4 separate regions of the Homo sapiens genome follow, and regions 2, 3 and 4 are each linked to region 1. Evidence: promoter capture Hi-C in 16 types of primary human blood cells and fetal thymus (Javierre and others, 2016). All regions are on one chromosome and are shown on one strand. Each heading gives the region's core, a stretch centred on a gene start or on the middle of the fragment in contact. The rest is flanking DNA. Distances are from core to core; before and after follow the strand shown. Region 1 holds the start of HIPK2 (homeodomain interacting protein kinase 2). Region 2 overlaps KDM7A-DT (KDM7A divergent transcript). Region 3 overlaps KDM7A (lysine demethylase 7A). Region 4 overlaps PARP12 (poly(ADP-ribose) polymerase family member 12).

What was found. The method cuts DNA at HindIII sites, captures the fragments that hold promoters and counts their contacts. A CHiCAGO score of 5 or more calls a contact.
Region 2: a contact is called between a fragment that was not itself captured here and the fragment with the promoter of HIPK2 in region 1, in 1 of 17 cell types (neutrophils). The highest score is 5.3, in neutrophils.
Region 3: a fragment that was not itself captured here is called in contact with the fragment with the promoter of HIPK2 in region 1 in 1 of 17 cell types (monocytes); the score reaches 5.4 in monocytes.
Region 4: a fragment that was not itself captured here is called in contact with the fragment with the promoter of HIPK2 in region 1 in 1 of 17 cell types (total B cells); the score reaches 5.2 in total B cells.

The regions. Positions count from the first base shown.
Region 1 is chr7:139,776,748-139,781,617 of GRCh38, forward strand. HIPK2 (homeodomain interacting protein kinase 2) reads right to left here and starts at 1,251. Exons shown (of 15, transcript NM_022740.5): 1 at 858-1,251. The coding sequence starts at 876. It also overlaps a transcript of TBXAS1 not described here. RefSeq lists silencers at 847-936, 1,367-1,596. The HindIII fragment of the contact is 7,054 bases long and covers 1-2,801 here.
Region 2 is chr7:140,178,743-140,183,612 of GRCh38, forward strand. It overlaps KDM7A-DT (KDM7A divergent transcript), which reads left to right. Exons shown (of 1, transcript NR_024451.1): 1 at 1-898. Among named protein-coding and RNA genes, the nearest start is that of KDM7A-DT, 3.9 kb to the left of the region's middle. The HindIII fragment of the contact is 5,380 bases long and covers 59-4,870 here.
Region 3 is chr7:140,118,370-140,123,239 of GRCh38, forward strand. It overlaps KDM7A (lysine demethylase 7A), which reads right to left. Exons shown (of 20, transcript NM_030647.2): 8 at 2,073-2,160; 9 at 744-850. Among named protein-coding and RNA genes, the nearest start is that of KDM7A, 56 kb to the right of the region's middle. The HindIII fragment of the contact is 1,598 bases long and covers 1,931-3,528 here.
Region 4 is chr7:140,040,886-140,045,755 of GRCh38, forward strand. PARP12 (poly(ADP-ribose) polymerase family member 12) reads right to left here. Exons shown (of 12, transcript NM_022750.4): 6 at 759-954. Among named protein-coding and RNA genes, the nearest start is that of PARP12, 20 kb to the right of the region's middle. The HindIII fragment of the contact is 4,259 bases long and covers 1-4,049 here.

The DNA.
Region 1 (4,870 bases), core at 1-2,500:
ACACATCGAAGTGTAAAAACTTAGTTGATTCTGGGTTGCTTTCTGGCTGGAAGCTGACAGAACGGACTGAAGAGAAACGAAAGACAGTGTGCGAGGCAGACCTACTGCTTTTCTGCCTTGCGTTCTTTTCTTTCTTGCTAAAGGCAGTCAAATGGGGAAAAATACCCCGATGCCAGGTGAAGGTGCACAACACAGATCGACCCAGACCGAGCCAGAAAAACGTCTCCGCCGCTCCCCCGGCTGGAAAACCCAAAGTCCACGTCCCCTTCCACACGCTAATGAGGGGAGATTTTCGCCTATTTCATTGTTCTGCCTGGCTCTGACATGGACTTTTCATCTCTCTCCTCTCTCCCCACCTAGCCCCGTGCATTCCGATTCCACAGCCCCCCCAAAATCGGAGGCTCGCGGAGAATAAAGGAGCGTGGGGTGGGCGCGGAAAGAAATGGGAAGGGGCGCGGGGCGGAGAGCGAAGTGGAAAGGAGGTGCTCCGAAAGGTAATGTGGGGGGGCGGTGGAAGCTAAGCCGCATCACCTTCATTTATCGCAAATAAATAAAAAGCACAGTCACCGGTCCGCCTTCCCCGGCGTCCCTGCCCTCCCCGGGCAGCCGCCCACCCTCGCACACGCCCCCTCCCCTCCTGCGCCCCCGGCCCCTCTCCCCGCCCTGGAAGCAAGACCCTGCCGGCGCCGGGTCCCGGTCATCTTCCGGGCGAGGGAGGGGGTCGCGGCCCCCTCGGGCCCCGGGTGGGGGCTGGGGCAGGCGCCGGGGGCTGCGGGCGCGGGGCCGCGGGCAGAACAAAGCTGCGGGGGCCGCGGAGGGCGGCGGGCGCGGGGTCGGCGGGGCCGGGCGCCCCTTACCTTCGTACACGGGGGCCATCGGGGCCGGGGTGTCCGCGGTTCATGGCAACGGGGACGGGAAAGCGGCGCGCGAGCTCGGCCCCCCCAGCCTCAGTCGGAATCTGCCATCTTGAGCCTGTGTCTCCGCTCTCGGCGCAGCCGAGGCCGCCCGCGCCCGCATCACCGCCTCCCGTGGCCGGCGCCGGGGGAGGGGGCCGGGCGCGCCGCCGCCGCCGCCGCCGCCGCTGCCGCCCGGGCCCGGCGCGGGGGGCTCGGGGCTCGGGGCTCGGGGCGGCCGGGCGGGCGGAGCGGCCGAGGCCGAGGCGCCGAGCGGCCGCGGCCCCCGAGCGGATCCGCGGAGGGGCGGGAGCCGGGGGCAGCGCGCGGCCAGGGCCGGCGGGGCTCAGCTCAGCATGGCTGGGCGCGGGGGCTCCGCAAAAGTTGCTGGCGGAGGGGGGCGGCGGGCGGGGGCGGGGGCGGGGCGCGGGGCCGGGAGAGCCACAGGGAGTCCGCGCGCAATCGAGCGCCGATGGCACGGATGCGAGGCGGGGAAGGCCGAACCGAAGGGCAGAGCCGCGCCGGCGGCCCGAGGGGACCGCGCTGGGAGGGGCTGCCGCGCAGCGCGGGGGGACTGGGCGCAGGGCGGGCCCCGGGTAGTGGGTGAGAGGGCCGGCCTGGACCCGGCGGGCGCACGGCTCCGAGCCCAGCGCAGCCGAGCCGGTCTGCAGAGGGGCCCCCAGAACTTTGTGTGTGTGTGTGCACGCGCGCGCGTGTGTGCCCAGGTGCGAGGGTTCGCGCGTGTGCTGGCGGGGAGGGAACCGACCCGAAAGAGAGCCCCACGCTGGCAAAGTGGCTCGCCCATCTCACAGCCGGTTGGCGCTCGCGGAGGTAGGAGTGGAATGAATGAATGAAGGAGTGGGCGCGCGCCGTGCTCCGGAGGAGGGCGGGTGAGTGGAGGAGCTTCGGAAAGCCACACGAGGTCAGAGGCACCGAAGCCCTGCCGTGCACGCCGCGGAAATGCAGCCCCCGGGGTGGTCGCTGGGTTCCTGCCGGAGTCTGGCTTCCACGCCACCCTGATCTTCTCCTCCTCGCGTCTACACTGTCCCGAGGGCCGCCACTCCATCACTTGAATGGGAGCTCACAACTCTCTGGGTCCTCGCTTTTCTCAGCGCTCTCTCCTATCAGGGCTTCCGCTAAACACTCTCCAGACTCTCCCCAGCCGGGAGCCTCTCCAGGTTTGCTTCTCCAGCTGCCTCCCGGATGCTTGGATAGGATGCCCTGCCATCCCCTCCAACTTAGGAAGACTTGTTGAGTCTCCTCTTAGGCACTGTTTTTAAAACTGTGGGTCGTGACACAGTAATAGATCATAAAATAAATGCAGCGGAAGGCAACCAGCTTTCAAAAAGAACGAAATGGAATCCAATAGAAAATATTAGAGTCCATTGCCCTTAGTAAGGGCAACTATTGTTTCATAAACCTTTTGTTTCGATTATAGGTACTGGACAAGTGTACTGGACCATGATGTCAATTTTATTTCCGTCTGTGAATCGTGGGTTTAAAAAAGTTGAAAAGCTATCTGTGTAAAATAATGATCTCTAACACTGTATAACTTTCTTAAAAACAACCTCGTGATTTTCTCACTACTTCTTATCCTTTCCGGTCTCCATCCTCCGTTCCCATCCTTCAGTCCTTCCCAAAAAAGGCAAGCTCTTTCACACTTTTTTAGTGGTACATCACGACACCTTCCTCTGTGTGATCTTGTACTCTGCGGTCTTCCTTGCCCCCATAATCAATGCTACACTTCCTATCCCTTCTCTTAACCTAATGCCATTCACGTTTGCAGAATCCTAGACTACTGTTGCTAAAAGGACCTCAGAGGTCATCTGGGCCAGCCCTGCCCTTTTAGAGTTGAAGAAATGGAGTCCAGAGAAGTAAAATCTGTTGCCCAATGTCACACAGTATTGAAGCTTAGGAATAGGTCTCGTGGCTCCCACTCTAGTGTTTTTTGCTCCACACCGGTCATTTATCTCCTTCCCTTCTATCCTCCCTGCAATCTTTAACTTTAGTCTTGGCCCAGGTCATCCTAAATATTGCCATCTTCATAATACGTGGTTCTGGCCATGCCACGCTCCTGGCTAACATCCTCTAAGGACTCAACCTCTGCAGGTGGGGCTGAGTGCCTTGGCTTTTCATCAAGGCAGGCGAGTCCTGACTTAGCTTTCTAAGGACATGAGTTCAGCAAGTCACTGCTTCTCTAGCCAAACTGGTTTACTTGTAGCCCAGTGCCAGCTTCACCCATCTCTGTCACTGTGCCTTTGCCCAAGCGGTCACTTTCCCACCCACTTTCCCAGAGGGGTACCTTCTCCATCTTCTCTCTTTAAGCAGATTCTACCTGTGCCTGGCTCACCTCCTCCACAAAACAGCCCGAGATAGCGTGGGAGTAAGTCAGACCTAGGTTCAAATCCTAGCTCTTCCACTTAACTATGTGATCTTGGTCAAAATGCTTAACCTCTCTGAGCCTCAGTGTCTGTATTTTGATTATGAGAAGGAGAACAATAGTAATGTTCTCCTTTTGCATCTGTAAATCTCTATCATAGCCTTCACCACACAGGTATGTAACTCCCTGTTAATACATACCCTACATGCATGTCTCTCTGCCCCTTTCTAGTGCTGGCCATTAGAACTTGCTGCCATAATGGCAGTGTAGCTACTTATGTCTGTGGAGCACATGAAATGTGGCTAGTATGACTGAGGAACTGAATTTTTAATTTTAATAACCATGGGTGGTTAGTGGCTACCATTTTGGACAAGGTGTCTCTAGACTGTAAGCTCAGTAAGGACAGAAACCATGTTTTTCTTGTTTTGGATTGTATGTCCAATAACTGCATTGCCTAACGCATGGTGAGTACTGCACACATATTTGTTGAATGGATGATAGCTGCAATTTGTTGCATGCTCCCTTGTGTCCAGCACAACACTACAAACTCGATAAAAGGCATTTCATATAGTCCTCATCACAGCCTCTGAGGCTGGGTTAGATTAGAGAGAGAGTTTTATATAGAGGGCAGACACATAGTAGGGGTTCAATAAAAGTTATTATTATTCTAACTCCTCCCTCTGACCAGCCCCACTGACTTTTGTCTCATCTTTCCTTAGGCTCACAGAACATTTCCTGCCTGTTGCTCACACTCTGTTGTCCACAGCATACCCGCACCCTAGATGGCTGACTCTTGTCTTCTGTGTAGGTACCCTGTGTTCATAACTGGATTGGCAGCGTCTTGGAGCAAGGCCCTGCTTTATAGGACTGCCCCTGAATTCAGCACTGACCAGTGTTCAGTAACTGCCTCTAAGTCCATCCCAGCTGCTGTCTAGCAGTGAGTGATTCTAGGCAGTCTTAAAATGAATATCACTTGTGTCAACCGAAAACATTTTACAGGTAGTCTCCTCCCCATAAGAAGGGAACAATCTTGGGCAAGGAAATAGAGTCCCATGGAAGGGGAACAAGATGGAGCCATACAGACAGAGGTCCACCTTCTCTTCAGACCACCATGACTGAAGCTGTATCCATGAGATGCAAAACATGCATTCAATTGAGCTAGCGAAGTTCGTATGATATAACGGAAAAATATTCTTGAAATGAGCTTAGATTTTCCTTCATGAATTGGCAGACTGAGTATACTAATTGTCTCCTTTCCTTCCGGTGACTGCAGTCAAGTGGCAGCAAGGTATAAACCTAACAGTGAAATGTCACTGAAGGAGAGCATGGGAGCTGGGAGGAGAGAGGATCTGTGACAGAACCTGGGGAGTACCAGTATTTGAGACATGGGAAGAGGAAAAAGAGCTCCCCATGGACAAGAGGGCAGAGAAGTTGGAGGACAGCCAGGACGGGGGATTCCTCAACATCCCAGCAAGGTCAACAGTGCTGCATGCTATTGAGAGGCCCACGTCAGATGAAAGCAGAAAAGCAGCTGGGTGCTGTGGCTCACGCCTGTAATCCCAGCACTTTGGGAGGCTGAGGCAGGCAGATCACCTGA
Region 2 (4,870 bases), core at 1,499-3,998, 400 kb after region 1:
TGGCATATATATAGCGGGAAAAGGAAAGGCTGGAAATTAGTTGACCACACACTGATTAAGCTTGAAACATATTTCTACTGGAGAAAAAAAGGTACTGTAATTTTGGCATAGGCATCACATATTGCTGGAGTGGAAAGACCCATGCACTCAGGTCCTGCTTTCTATAATCTGTGACCTCGGGCCAGTCACTCCATTTCTCCTGAACTAGATCACTGATGATCTGTTGAAAGAAAAAATATGGCTAGTAATGCCTTAATTATCTCACAGAGGTTTTACATGGAGCAAAAAGACAATGTATTTTTAAATGTACTTTGTTGAAGGTGTGTGTTGTCGAGACAATACAGCAGTGAAGAGAAGGCATGCAAAGCTGTCTTGTTGGAGTCTGGCTAAAGAGCACCAAAGCAGCCTGTTGTGGGATGTCCTCTGGGGGCCACCTGGACTTGCTATGTTAACATGGAGGGACTAGGCAGGGGTATGAAGAAGGAAGCCCAGCAGAGCAGGAGGCAGCAGCAACAATGAGAGATTGGTTATCCATATGACTTGGATCTGTGTCCCCACCCAAATCTCATGTTGAATTGTAATCCCCAATGTTGGAGGTGGGGACTGGTGGGAGGTGACTGGATCATGGGGGTGGATTTCTTATGAATGGTTTAGTACCATCCACTTTGTATTGTCCCCGTGGTAATGAGTGAGTTCTTAAGAAATCTGGTCATTGAAAAATATGTGGCACCTCCTCCCTCTCTCTTTTGCTCCTGCCCCGGCTATATGATGCAATTTGTCTTCAGCCATGATTGTAAGTTTCCCGAGGCCTCCCCAGAAGCTGAGCAGATGCCAGCATCATGCTTCCTGTACAGCCTGCCTTCCATGAGCCAATTAAACTTCTTTCCTTTACAAATTACACAGTCTCAGATATTTTTCTCTTTTTTTTTTTTGAGATGAAGTCTGGGTCTGTCGCTCAGGCTGGAGTGCAGTGGTGCGATCTCAGCTCACTGCAACCTCCACCTCCCGGGTTCAAGCAATTCTTAGGCCTCAGCCTCCTGAGTAGCTGGGGTTACAGGTACCTGCCACCATGCCCGGCTAATTTTTGTAATTGTAGTACAGAAGGGTTTCACCATGTTACTCAGGCTGGTCTTGAACTCCTGACCTCAGGTGATCCACCTGCCTCAGCCTCCCAAAGTGCTGGGATTACAGTTGTATGCCTCAGATATTTATTTATTTATTTATTTATTTATTTATTTTTATTTATTTTTCTTTTTTTTTTTTTTTTTTTTTTGAGACACAGTCTCACTTTGTTGCCCAGGCTGGAGTATAGTGGCATGATCTTGGCTCACTGCAACCTCCGCCCTCTGGGTTCAAGGAATTCTTTTGCCTCAGCCTCCCAAGTATCTGGGATTACAGACGTGCACCACCACAGCCAGCAAATTTTTGCATTTTTAGTAGTGGCCAGGCTGGTCTCGATTTCCTGACCTCAGGTGATCCACCTGCCTCAGCCTCCCAAAGTGTTGAGATTACAGGTGTGAGCCACCGCACCCAGCCCAGATATTTCTTTATAGCAACGAAAGAACAAACTGATACAGTTGTGTACAAGAGAACTGATCAAACGCAGTCGTGTTGGCCAGACGTGGTGGCTCATGCCTGTAATCCCAGCACTTTGGGAGGCCCAGGCGGGTGGATCATGAAGTCAGGAGATTGAGACCATCCTGGCTAACATGGTGAAACCCTGTCCCTTCTAAAAATACAAAAAATTAGCTGGTTGTGGTGGCACGCACCTGTATTCCCAGCTACTCGGGAGGCTGAAGCAGGAGAATCGCTCAAACCCGGGAGGCAGAGATTGCAGTGAGCCAAGATCGCGCCACTGCACTCCAGCCTGGGCTACAGAGCAAGACTCCATCTCAAAAAAAAAAAAAAAAAAAAAATACAGTCGTGTTGCTTAACAACAGAGGTAAGTCTGAGAAATGCATCGTTAGGCAATTTCATCGTTGTGTGAACACCATAGAGTGTACTTACAACCGTGTTTGGTATAGCTAACTACACACCTAGGCTAGATGATGTAGCCCATCACTCCTAGGCTATACACCTGTATAGCATGTTACTGTGCTGAATTCCATAGGGATTTAGAACACAATGGTAAGAAATTGTGTTTCTAAATATAGAAAAGGGAGAGTAAAAATATCACATCATAATATTATGGGGCACCATCATAATATGCAGTCCATCATTGACGGAAATGTCATTATGCGACACGTGACTGGCAATGAGTTAAGGAAAATGGGAGCCAGGTTTCTCAATGTTCAGGAAGAGAATTACAAATAAGAGGAAACTTTGGTGGTGGGCTAGTAATGGAGGTATCAATCTATCACTATTTGTAGAAATAGATATAGGTGTATATGTACATACCCTGTCCATTGAGAGGATCTGGGAGTAGTGACACCACAAAACAATGAGAACAGCTAGCCCAGGTCTTGGCTTCTAAATACCATTCTCCACTTCATTTTTCTTCTTGGCAAAATAGTTGATTCCAGGACTGGAGAAGAGGGTACGGGATGAGCCTGGAACTTCTTGTAGTACCAGAATATAAGGACGTGCTCAAAGAATAATGAGGCATGTCTAAAGGACACCAGCCAAATCAGGGACAAATTGTACTTCAACATTTAAAAAAAATCATGTATTATAACCCACTGAATAATATAGGAAGCTATACCAGTGTAAAGAAATACATAAATTGAAAGTTTGATAAGCAGTGGAATAGTTTCATAGTTTCAAAGTATCTCCCAACAAAATTCTTACTAATTACAAAGGGAACTAGAGTAACTTTTCAGTGTTAAGGAGCTTGGCAGACACCATCTTAATCAAATGATCAAGTGCCATCAATAATGGGACAAATCAAGATCACGTGCCATCTGATAGGATTTGGTGAGAATACTAGCATCACTTCTGTGCATTTCTGCTCAGTCTATTTAATTAATCTCCAGTTTGGAAATGCAGCTATTTTTAAAAGTACATGAAGAGATCAGTAAAGAATAAAGACACTGTAAGGCATACAAATCTGTAAGGAAAGGTTAGAGAAATTGTAAACACAAAGATTTGATCTTGGGAAGAAAGGGATTAAGGCTAGAACTCTGGATGATGCCAACGTTTTAGTGGCAAGCCCCATACATCATAATTAAGCTCATGGTTTTGGATTCACAACCTACTACCTCTGTGACAACTTATTAACACTTGGATTTTAGTTTTCTCATTTTAATGGGAATGGTAAGCATATCTGCTTCCCAGGGCTGGGTACACTAAAATAACATACTTTGCACAATTCTTAGCATATGATAAGCCATATAGCTACTAACTGCAATTATGAATAATTATTTTGCTACTTGTTCATTAATAATAATAGAGAGGACAGCTCTATTATGAAGAGCAGCTGAAGAGTTAGGACAGAAGACTAGGAGAATATTGTCTCAAAAACAAGCGGGGGATAGAATTTCAAAAGGAAAAATATCTTGAAGAAAGACACCCAGCTCCATGCCAGCATCAGTTGACAATGACCGTGGGACTCCCTCTCCCTTTCTCCTTTGTGGTTTCTCCAATACTCGCAGATCTCTCTTAATTTTCACATCAAATCTAGGGTGTTGTGTTTGTTTTTAACACTTCACTTGTTCATTTAACCTCATTTCTCTGACAAGGAATGTTTGCTCCAAACTAACAATTCTCCTTCCTACTACTAATGATACTGCTCTATCTCCACAACCACGTCTGCTATTCTCTTCCTTAGAAAACAAACGTACTGGCCAGGCACAGTGGCTCACGCCTTAATCCCAGCATTTTGGGAGGCCAAGGTGAACGGATCACCTGAGGTCAGGAGTTCCAGACCAGCCTGGCCAACATGGTGAAACCTCATCTCTAAAAAAATACAAAAATTAGCCGGGCACGATGGCAGGTGCCTGCAATCCCAGTTACTCAGGAGTCTGAGGCAGAAGAATCACCTGAACCTGGGAAGCAGTGGTTGCAGTGAGCCGAGATCGTGCCATTGCACTCCAGCCTGGGCGACAGAGCGAGAATCCGTCTCAAAAAAAAAAAAAAAAAGAAAGAAAGAAAGAAAGAAAGAAAACAAACATATTTTGGGAATATATCTTGGGAATGCTACGTTAAACCATTGACATGCATTAAATGAGAGTGATTTGTTCTTACATAGCACTTGATCCTCCCTGTAACCTGTTCATCAGATTAACGAAACAGGGATTAACTACACAAATTAACTAGCCTGGCTAAAGTTGTGGTAGGAGGACAGAGAAATTTTAATTTTACTGAGCTGGAGGGAAAAGGATAATGTCTGAGTGGAAAAGATTGCCTATGGAGAGTAGGTCTTGAAAGAGTATATCATGGTGCTGGGAGGAAGAAGAGTGGAGTCTAGTCGGGGAAGCAGGACCCAACACACAGAGCTCAGCAGCTTTGTTCACAGCCTGATTATCTTTGCTTCTACCCCAGGAGCTGGGAAAATTCTAAACTGACAGCCCGAGGTTAAGATGTTATTAAAGGAGGACTGTCATGTTGAACACATTCAAAGCGCAAATGTTAATAAAAGTGGTGAAAAAGTATAAAGGAAAGCAAAGCAGATAAATGACATTAGTAAGGACAGTGAATCACAATGTAGCCAGGCATTACAAAGGATACAGTATAAAGTACATAGTATCACTTAGGAAGTATCCTTGCCAAAAATGTTTAACCTGAATATAATTAAACCTTAAGACTTAATTTCCAGCTGACAGGAAATTCAGGAGATAGAGCAGCAACAAGTTGTATGATACCACAAGGAAATAAGACTAATCCAAAATATGAAACATTTCACAAAACCACTAGCTTAGTTTATTTTAAAAGT
Region 3 (4,870 bases), core at 1,480-3,979, 340 kb after region 1:
AGACAAGTTCAAAAAAGGTTTTTTTTCTTCAACTACAGAATCATAACCTGACTTTTTTTTTTTGGAGATGGAGTTTTGCTCTGTCGCCATTGCATGATCTCGGCTCAATGCAACCTCTGCCTCCCGCCGGGTTCAAGCGATTCTTCCTGCCTCAGCCTCCCAAGTAGCTGGGATTACAGGCATGCACCACGATGCCCGGCTAATTTTTGTATTTTTTTTTTTTTTTTAGTAGAGACAGGATTTCACCATGTTGGCCAGGTTGGTCTTGAACTCCTGACCTCAGGTGATCTGCCTGCCTCGGCCTCCCAAAGTGCTAGGATTAGGGCGTGAACCACTGTGCCCAGCCTAGTTTGCTTTTTTAAAAGCAAATTTTGGGAACATATAATAGGTAACAGTCTCTTGACATAAACTGCATTTTTGAGAGTCAGGCACTGTTACGTGCTTGATGATGTATGCAGGCTTCTAGAGGACTAGATGGAATGAACATTTCTAATATTACCTACGTTGTTCTGATCCAGGTCTTTCATAACAAATTTTTAAGAACATGGATTGTCAGGTTATGGACTAAAGACTCTAACTTGCTAAAAAGGTTGCTGGATGGGGGAAAACCACTTATTTAAAAAACAAAATAGGAGTGACATCCATACACTACTAGAAAAGGGACTCTTTCTGTCAGGTGGCTATGAGTGAATTTACAAACAATATGCATCATATCATATACAAACATGCAAATTATTAATTACCTTTCAGGGTTTCCAGCAAGTTTTTGGCTACAAACCAACATATGGCTTCAAAGAAAGGGAATTTGAAAAGATCTGGTGTTTTTAGCCTTTTCTCCATCTCATAACACCTAAATGAGTTTGAAGAAATTTTTAATATTAATATTAGAATTTCAAAGTTAGATGAAAGTAACCAACTGGAAAATAAAATAACCAGGTCATGATATGTAAGACCAATAAAGTATTTTACATTTCTTAGCAACATCACATTTGGACAAGACTGAATTGTGATCTTATCCAGGTTCTGACTTTAAGGAATTTGATGGTATACTTAAGAATTGTATTGGACTTCACAGAAGATCAGGATCACACTTTGGGATTTGTATCCTGGTTTTAACAAAAGACATTTTTACGAGGGTTCTACTACAATAAATAAAACTGTGTGTTTCAGAAAACACCTCTATGTGTTAGACAACAGTGCAATACCCACCCAAAAAAGTTTTATTTAGGCTCCACTAGGCATTCCAGCTCAAGACCACACTTGGCAAGAATTAAACAGGAGCCATCCCTCCCTCAGGGACAGCTCAGGTACAAAAAGACAAGATCCACACTTGGTAGGTGTGGGAGCTGTTTAAGGCTGCTTAAAGCCTTATGCCCTGTAAAAGCCACTATCTCCCCTAATAACGCCACACACAGATGCATAGCTTCTAGGGATCTCTATGAGTGTGCCAAGTTACAAGAGTTACCACATTCAGGCAAGTCCAGAGATATGGCTTCTTACTAGGTATTTCTAGTTCTCCCAGTCCTGATGCAGTTTATCAATCAGGAATCATTTTTACCATAAGCAATGTTACCTAGTAAAAGTCAACACTCATTAGACTACTAGGAGAAGAGAGTTACGCAAAGGTCAAATTCTCATATAGAGGAGAAACAGCTATTAATCCTTTACCTGCAGCAAAATTAAAGCAGGTGTTTTGATAGCAGTCCTGACTTACGGTTGCTTTTTTCTAGCACCATATGTCACATCTGAGTCTGACTAGATTTTGTTCATCTCCCTCACTGCAAAAATAGCCAAAGAAGAACACATACATTTTCACAAAATTTTGAAATTTGGAATATTATCTGAATAAGTTCCCTTTTGTTGTTGTTGTTTTAGATTTGAAATGCAAATTATCCTCCTGGCAAAATTTTAAAATACTACTTTTGTTAAAAGCTTCTATCCCTAATAATATCTCAGGGACTATTTCCATGGAATCTCAAATAAAATAAGCTATTGATTTTTTTTAAGTTAAAAAAAAAAGTATCCTATTTTTAAAAAGGACAAAAGGTCATTTAAATACTGATGACACAAACCTGAGCTGCATGCCAATGTTAAGGTTGTGCAGGAAGTTCCCCCCAAAAGCCATACAGTCCTGAGAAGTGAGCACAGCATGGATCCACCCTAAAATGGTTGAAAATATATAAACCAGTCATTTTTCAATATGTAAACTAAACCAATAGGATATCTACCTGTGAAGTAACTCAAAATATCAATATCAGTTTACTTCATATTTCAGTGCTAGAGAAGTTAATGTTTATTACAATCTATAGATTTAATTATTTATTAAATGCCTATTATATGGTAGGCTCTATGCTGAGTTTGAGAAATAAGGTGACGGTTTTTGTAGTTGTTACTGTATTTGTTTTTTTCTTTTTAAAAATAGAGATGGGGTCTCACTTTGTTGCCCAGGCTGATCTCAAACTCCTGGCCTCAAAGTCATCCTCTCACATTGGCCTCCCAAAGTGCTGAAATTAAGGCGTGAGCCACTGTGCCCAGCCTGTTTTTGTTTTTTAGCTTAAAAACACAACCCAACTTTATATTAAAGATTTTACTCTTTGAGACCAGCCAAATCTGGTTTGAATTAGAAAAGCACATTTTCCATTAGAGAACACACTGGGATTGATGGGACACTCCATCGCCCTGGTGTCATCCTGAAATCAGTGCCCCGAAAGGACTAAGCAGAGGAGGATCAGAGGAGTCAACCTGAGACCTGACTCTGTAGAAGGAAAAGGTAGATTACTCACATTTAATTATGAAGGGTTATGGTCCTACAAATATAGGTGTTGCCAAAAAATGATATTTTGTATTCCCATACAAATGCTTACAAAGTGAAAACCATTTCTAAGACATGACGTCTAACTTTTGAAAAAAATGTTGGCAGACTTCAAGACTTCACCAGAAATAAATACAAACACATATTTGTATGCAAATTAGCTTTTAAAATACACAAATCCCGTTTTCTTTGTATTTTTCATCTTTTGACCCCTCACTGAACTGTAACACAAAACAAAAAACCCTCAAAGGACTCACTTTCAAGTGTGCCCATTGCTGTGCTCAAAGGCACAAAGCCTTGAGCTTGACCTTGAAACCACAAATTAGCAGTCTGTGCCAACTCCAAATCCTACACATCAGTGGTTCTCAATAGCGGCAGTACTGCCTGTTCAGGATGTTTTGGAACGTTTAGGGGCTTTTCTGATTGTCACAATGATCTGGGAGCACTACTGGCATTTTGTGAGTGGGAGCCAGGAGTACAATATGTGAGACAGTTCCATACAAAATGAAATTGTCCTGCATCACTCGGGACTGCCAAATTTTCCTGCGCATTCATATAGGTACAAAGCCTGTCCTATTAACTATCTGAGCCTAGAAATTAGAACTCCATTATTATATATTATTATATATATCTGTATATACAGACACCCACACACAGTATATTTTCATGGTTTTGGCACAATTTCCTGAAACACAAAAACTGTACTGTAGTTTGGAAGCTTATCAGTCACTAACAACCTTGGGAAAAGAATTACATTGCCTACAGCAGTGGTTCTCCAAATATGGTCCCCATACCAGCAGCACCTGAATCAGCCAATAACTTGTTAGAAATGCACATTCTCAGGCCCACTCCAGATCCACAGAATCCGAACCTTGGCCATGACGTCCAGCAATCTGTGTTGTAACCAGCCCTCCATGTGATTCTGATATTCCAGGAAGTATCAGTACCTACACCAGTGCTACTGATAGAATTTGTGTTGCCACTGACACACACCTAGATTGATTTCCTTCCTTATGCAATTACTATTTCATTCTGTTCTCTAATGCTGCTGTGCCTAGACAGGCACATACTGAAATAGCATTTCATTATAAATTACCTTTTTATTTCTTCTTTATATTCTAGTTAGGACATTAAATCAATTTAAAAAATTATTCTATGAATGTCAATTTATGATTTGAAGAATCATAAATGTCAATTTATGATTATATTAGAAATACCTAACATAAAAGCAAGAAGTAGGAAGATTTAAGGGAGGGGCATTCACAATGTGAATGAGCCCATTCACAATGAAAATACTGTTACTAATCTAGGCAAATATTCTGGTAGTTCTAAGGCATGTCTTCATTTATTCAACATACATTTGTTATTATATACACCAGAGGCAAGGCTTTCAGCAGGACCTGCAGGGACAGATCCCTGTGAACTTTACAGTCATTAGGGTCACCAAAACCAGCACACAGTTCTCGAAACCACTGGTCTGGACAGTCTATACTCTACATTCATTTACATCTCAAAATGAGAGGCCTGATACCTATACTTGAGGCTACAGCTAAGGCTGATACTCAGTCCTTTCTTTGAGGGTCTCTCAAGACACACCCTATGCTGTCCTAACTGTCCTGGGACAGCAGCCCAGATTCTTACAGGCTTGGTTTTTAACAGCAATGGAGAGCTGACCATAGTTAAGACTATCAAAATTAAAAACTTTTGTGCATCAAAGGATATTATCAAGAAAGTGAGCAGATAACCCACAAAATGGGAGCAAATTATTTGCAAATCATACATACTGATATGGGTCTAGTACAGAGAATAAAGAATGCTTACAAACTCAACAATTAAAAAGGACAACCCAATGTTAAAATGAGCAAAGGGTTTGAATAGACATTTCTCCAAAGAAAATATGCAAATGCCCAACAAGAAAAATGCTCAGCATCATTACTCATTAAGGAAATGCAAATCCAAATCATGACACATCACACCCACTAGAATAGAATAGAAGGCAATTACAGCACTGGTGAGGGTGTGGAGAAACTGGAACCCAAATACACTGCTGGTGGTAAC
Region 4 (4,870 bases), core at 670-3,169, 260 kb after region 1:
GTCTCCCGAGTAGCTGGGACCACAGGCATACGCCACCACACCTGGCCAATTTTTGTATTTTTAGTAGAGATGGGGTTTCACCATGTTGGCCAGGCTGGTCTTGAACTCCTGACCTCAACTGATCTGCCCACCTCGGCCTCCCAAAGTGCTGGGATTGTAGGCATGAGCCACCACGCCCGGCCTAAACTTGTATTTCTATAAGTGACCAGGGGACTCCCTTTAATCTGACCCATCCACAAACACCTGCGAAGAATTGACAGCAACTATTTTTTGTTATTTGGCTTGGATTCCAAACCTATACATGATATAAATCAATTTTCTTATATTTGCCTACCTTCTGTAAAGTTGCAGAAATGGCAGACAACCAGTTTGAAAAGCCTTTACCTCTATATCACAGCTACACAAACACACTTGCACACATAGGCACCAGCTGTGGGGTTAAGTTACCTGTTCAACAAGAGAAACATCTTTCTATCCCATTTAATAAAACCAATGAAGAAACTTGATCTCACTACAAATTTGTCATTCAGTTCTCATGAGCCAACAGATGGAAGCTCTTCAAAGATGAAAGCTCATACAAATAAATTCCAACTTATCTAGTTTTGCCATAATTCTCCCAAAGCAAGTGAGCCACACTGGCACCTGGGGATCCTCAGCTCTCTCAAGGATGCCCCTGGCAACAATATGGGGGCTCTTATTTGGCTCCTCTCTTACAGATCCTCAGGACAAAACATTCACCCTCTTTCCATCACACTTACCTGTCTTCCATATTCCTGCCAAGAACCAAACTCATCACTCCAGTACCAAATCCAGTCAGTGGTGAGGATGAAGTGTGGAGGTTTGGTGACAGAGGAGGCCGTGGAGAGGCGGCGAGCCTGGGTAGCACCGTAAGTCATGGCGTTAAAGTTCAGACAATGAGAGTGAAAGGTACTGGCTGACTCAGAGCACAGGATCCTACAGAAGAAAAACAGCAGCAGACTGAAAATCCCACCAGCCAAGCAGACACAGGTCCCTCAGCTTGAGAACATATAGCTGGGAGATGCGAATAGTAAATGTGGCATGCACATTTTAGAAAAAGTTCCCAGAGGTAGAGGAAACTGCTTTTTCAGATCAGTTTTGAGGTATAAAAATATCAAAATCAAGATAATGTGGGAGACTAGTTATGACGAAAATTCCTCTCAGTACAAAATGCCGAAGATGCTGGTGAAATCATTCTTTTTTAAAATTCACTGCTGAGCTGGCAAGAAAGGGAAGTCCTCAGAAGCCAAAAATAACAATAGTTAACATATACTGAGTGTTTACTGTGTGAGCCAGACCCTGCATTAAGCACTTTATATGTATTAGGCGATGACATTTTCACAACCCTATGAGGTTGAGACTATTATCTCCACTTCACAGACGGGAAAACAGAAGCTCAGGAAGGTGAAGAAACCTGTTCAAGGTCAAACAGCTAGTCAGCGGGCGAGCTGGGCTTTCAGGTGGGCAGGTGGGCTGCACAGCCTGCACCTGAGCCACCAGGACACGCTCCCTTTCTAAACGCAGTACTGCCTAAAGACCAAAGGAAGGTACGAAACTGGAGAGCGGAGAGGAGGGCGAGAGCCAGCAGCTATCCCAGGGCAGTATCGATGAGTAACGACAGAGAGCCTGGGCTTTGGCCGCAAAAGGGAAGCAGGAAACAAATGTAGGGTCTGAGTACGGCAGGAGGCTGAATCTCAAAAGAGATACCTCTGCGTAAAACCAGGACCCTAAAAGATGACCCACCTTAGTAAAGGGGGACTGGAGAGGGGACTTGCCTTGCAAAGACATCTGGCAAGGAAACCTGCCTGTATTAATGTTGGTTCTGGATAAAGGAGGAAAAAATTCCTCTGAGAACTCATAAACCACTCAAGCCTCACAGAAGTTTTAGACTGATTCACATTTTGGGAGAATTAGCTGCAAAGACCACCCAGGGTAGCAGTTCTCAGAGAAGCAAACACACATCCCCTCTGGAGAAATTCACCTTCAACTCAGGCCTCAAAAGAATTTCTTGGCCGGGCATGGTGGCTCACGCCTGTAATCCCAGCACTTTGGGAGGCCAAGGCAGGTGGATCATGAGGTCAGGAGATCGAGACCATCCTGGCTAACACAGTGAAACCCCGTCTCTACTAAAAATACAAAAACTAGCCGGGAGTGGTGGCGGGCACCTGTAGTCCCAGCTACTCAGGAGGCTGAGGCAGGAGAATGGCATGAACCCAGGAGGCGGAGCTTGCAGTGAGCTGAGACCGCACCACTGCGCTCCAACTTGGGCGACAGAGTGAGACTCCATCTCAAAAAAAAAGAATTTCCAAAGAAATTTCCATCAAATCAAACATGAGCTCAAAATCGATCACAAAATGTGGAAACAAAGACACTATGAGCAAAAGTTAACAAAAACAAAATCAGACCACCCTGAACTATAAACATTAGTATTCTCAGATGCAGATATACGTGATATGTTTTTTAAAAAGGAATTGAGCATCAAAAGTATGAGTAAGAATCAAGAGACTATAAAAACTGACTGGGTAAATTTAAGGAAAAAAACAGAACTTTTACTATTCATTATTCTTTTCTTTCTCCTCCACTCCCTCCAAAACTTTTTTTCTTTTCCTTTTTTACTACTTTTTTTTAATTTTTTATTTTTTGAGACAGAGTCTCACCCTGTCACCCAGGCTGGAGTGCAGTGGCATCATCTCAGCTCATCGTGATCTCCGCCTCCCGGATTCAAGCGATTCTCCTGTCTCACCCTCCCGAGGAGTAGCTGGGATTACAGGCATGCACCACCACGCCCAGCTAATTTTTGTATTTTTTTGTGCAGACAGAGTTTCACCATGTTGGCCAGGCTGGTCTTGAACTCCTGGCCTCAAGCCATCCGCCCTCCTCAGCCTCCCAAAGTGCTGGGATTACACGCGTGAGCCACTGCTCCCGACCTTAGAACTTTTAAACATAATTAAATTAACTGAAATTTAAAAATCATACTTCGATGGGACACACTGCATCTCAGAAGAGTCTGAACTAATGAACTGAGAGCCTGAGAGGAAGAAATGTGGCAGAGTTTAGAAAGAGAATAAAAGAGAAGTTAGAAGACATAAAAGATAAAGTGAGAAGACTTCACCATATATCTAATGAGAATTCCAGAGAAGGAATACTTAAGGAGATCATGGCTGAGGAAATCAGAAAGCACAGCAAAATATGAGTAGCATAAATTTTTTTAAATCCACACACAGATTTTAGTGAAACTGCACAGCACCAAAGAATGACAAGATATTAAAAACAGCCAGAGAGAAAAAAACAGACTATCTATTATACTGGATTGAATTGTGTCCCCAAGAAGATATGCTGAAGGTCTAATCCCTGGTACCCATGAATGCGATCTTATTTGGAAATAGGGTCTTTGCAGATATAATCAAGTTAAGATGAGGTCATATTGGATTCGGGTGGGCCCTAATCCAAAACTGATGTCCTTTTAAGACGAGGGAAATTTGAACACAGACACATGGGGAAATGCCTGTGACAATGGAGGCTGAGATTGGAGTGACGCGTCTACAAGCCAAGGCATGCCAAGGATTTCTAAGCATCAGAATCCTGGAGGAGGCAAGAAAGGATCCTCCTGTAAAGCCTTCAGACAGAGCAAGGCCCTGCTAACACCTTCAGTTTGGACTTCTAGCCTCCAGAACCGAGAAAATAAATTTCTGTTGTTTGAAGCCATCAAGTTCATGGTAATTTGTTACAGCAGCCCTAAGAAGTGAACTAATACCACCTCGATTTAGGCTGATAGCTAACTTCTAAGTAGAAGCAATGGAATCCAGACAACAATGAAATAGTCTTTGAAGAACTGAGGGAAAATACCCAGTAAAACTATCTTTCAAGAATGAGAAGGGAATAAAAACCCTTTCAGACTAACAAAATACACAATTACCTCCAGACTCTCATTAAAGCAACCTCCAACAGAGGAACTTAAAGAAAGAAAATGATAAACAAGGAGAAGTGTGAGCAAAGGAATGGTGAGTAAGAAACAAAATGGTAATTGTGTAAGCTTAAACAAATACTGACTGCCTAAAACAATACGAATTTCTAACCTCTAGGATTAAAAATATTATATCAGCAATACATACAGTGCATCTTTTTCTTTTTTTTTTTTTTAATAGAGACAAGATCTAGCTCTGTCACCCAGACTGGAGTGTAGTGACACAATCATAGCTCACTGCAGCATCAAACTCCTGGGCTCAAATGGTGCTCCCTCTGCAGCTTCCTGAGTAGCTGGGACTACAGGCACGCGCCACCATGCTCAGCTAATTTTTTTAAAAATTTTTGTAGAGACAAGGTCTCTTTATGTTGCCCAGGCTAGTTGTGTATTCCCAGCCTCTAGCAATCCTCCCACTTCAGCCTCCCAAAGCACTGGGATAACAGGTATGAGCTGCTGCGCTCGACCCACATCTTATGTGCCTGGCAGTGATCTGAGTGTTTTATGCATATTAACTCATTTAATTCTCAAAATAACCTTGTGACGTAGAAACTATTATTTTGTCTACCTAACATATAGTAAAGCTGAGGTAAAATGAGATTAAGTAATCTGGCCAAATTTATATAATTAGTAAATAAGTTTGAATGAAACTAGTCAGAATTCAAGTGTCCAAGGTTCTTTCATTGTTTGACAGAATGACAAAAGGCACTGATTGGCTTAAGCTCAGCTAAAAGTCTGTTAAGATAAAGAGTCTGTTTAGATTTCCAGAGCAGCCACTGAAAAAATAAAAATTCAGTATATAACGTCCAAACTAGTAAAGGGAAAAAACCAAGTGAGGAAAAAAATCTACAAGAAGATCAAAAAGAGAAAAGAAATATACAAAAAGTGGGT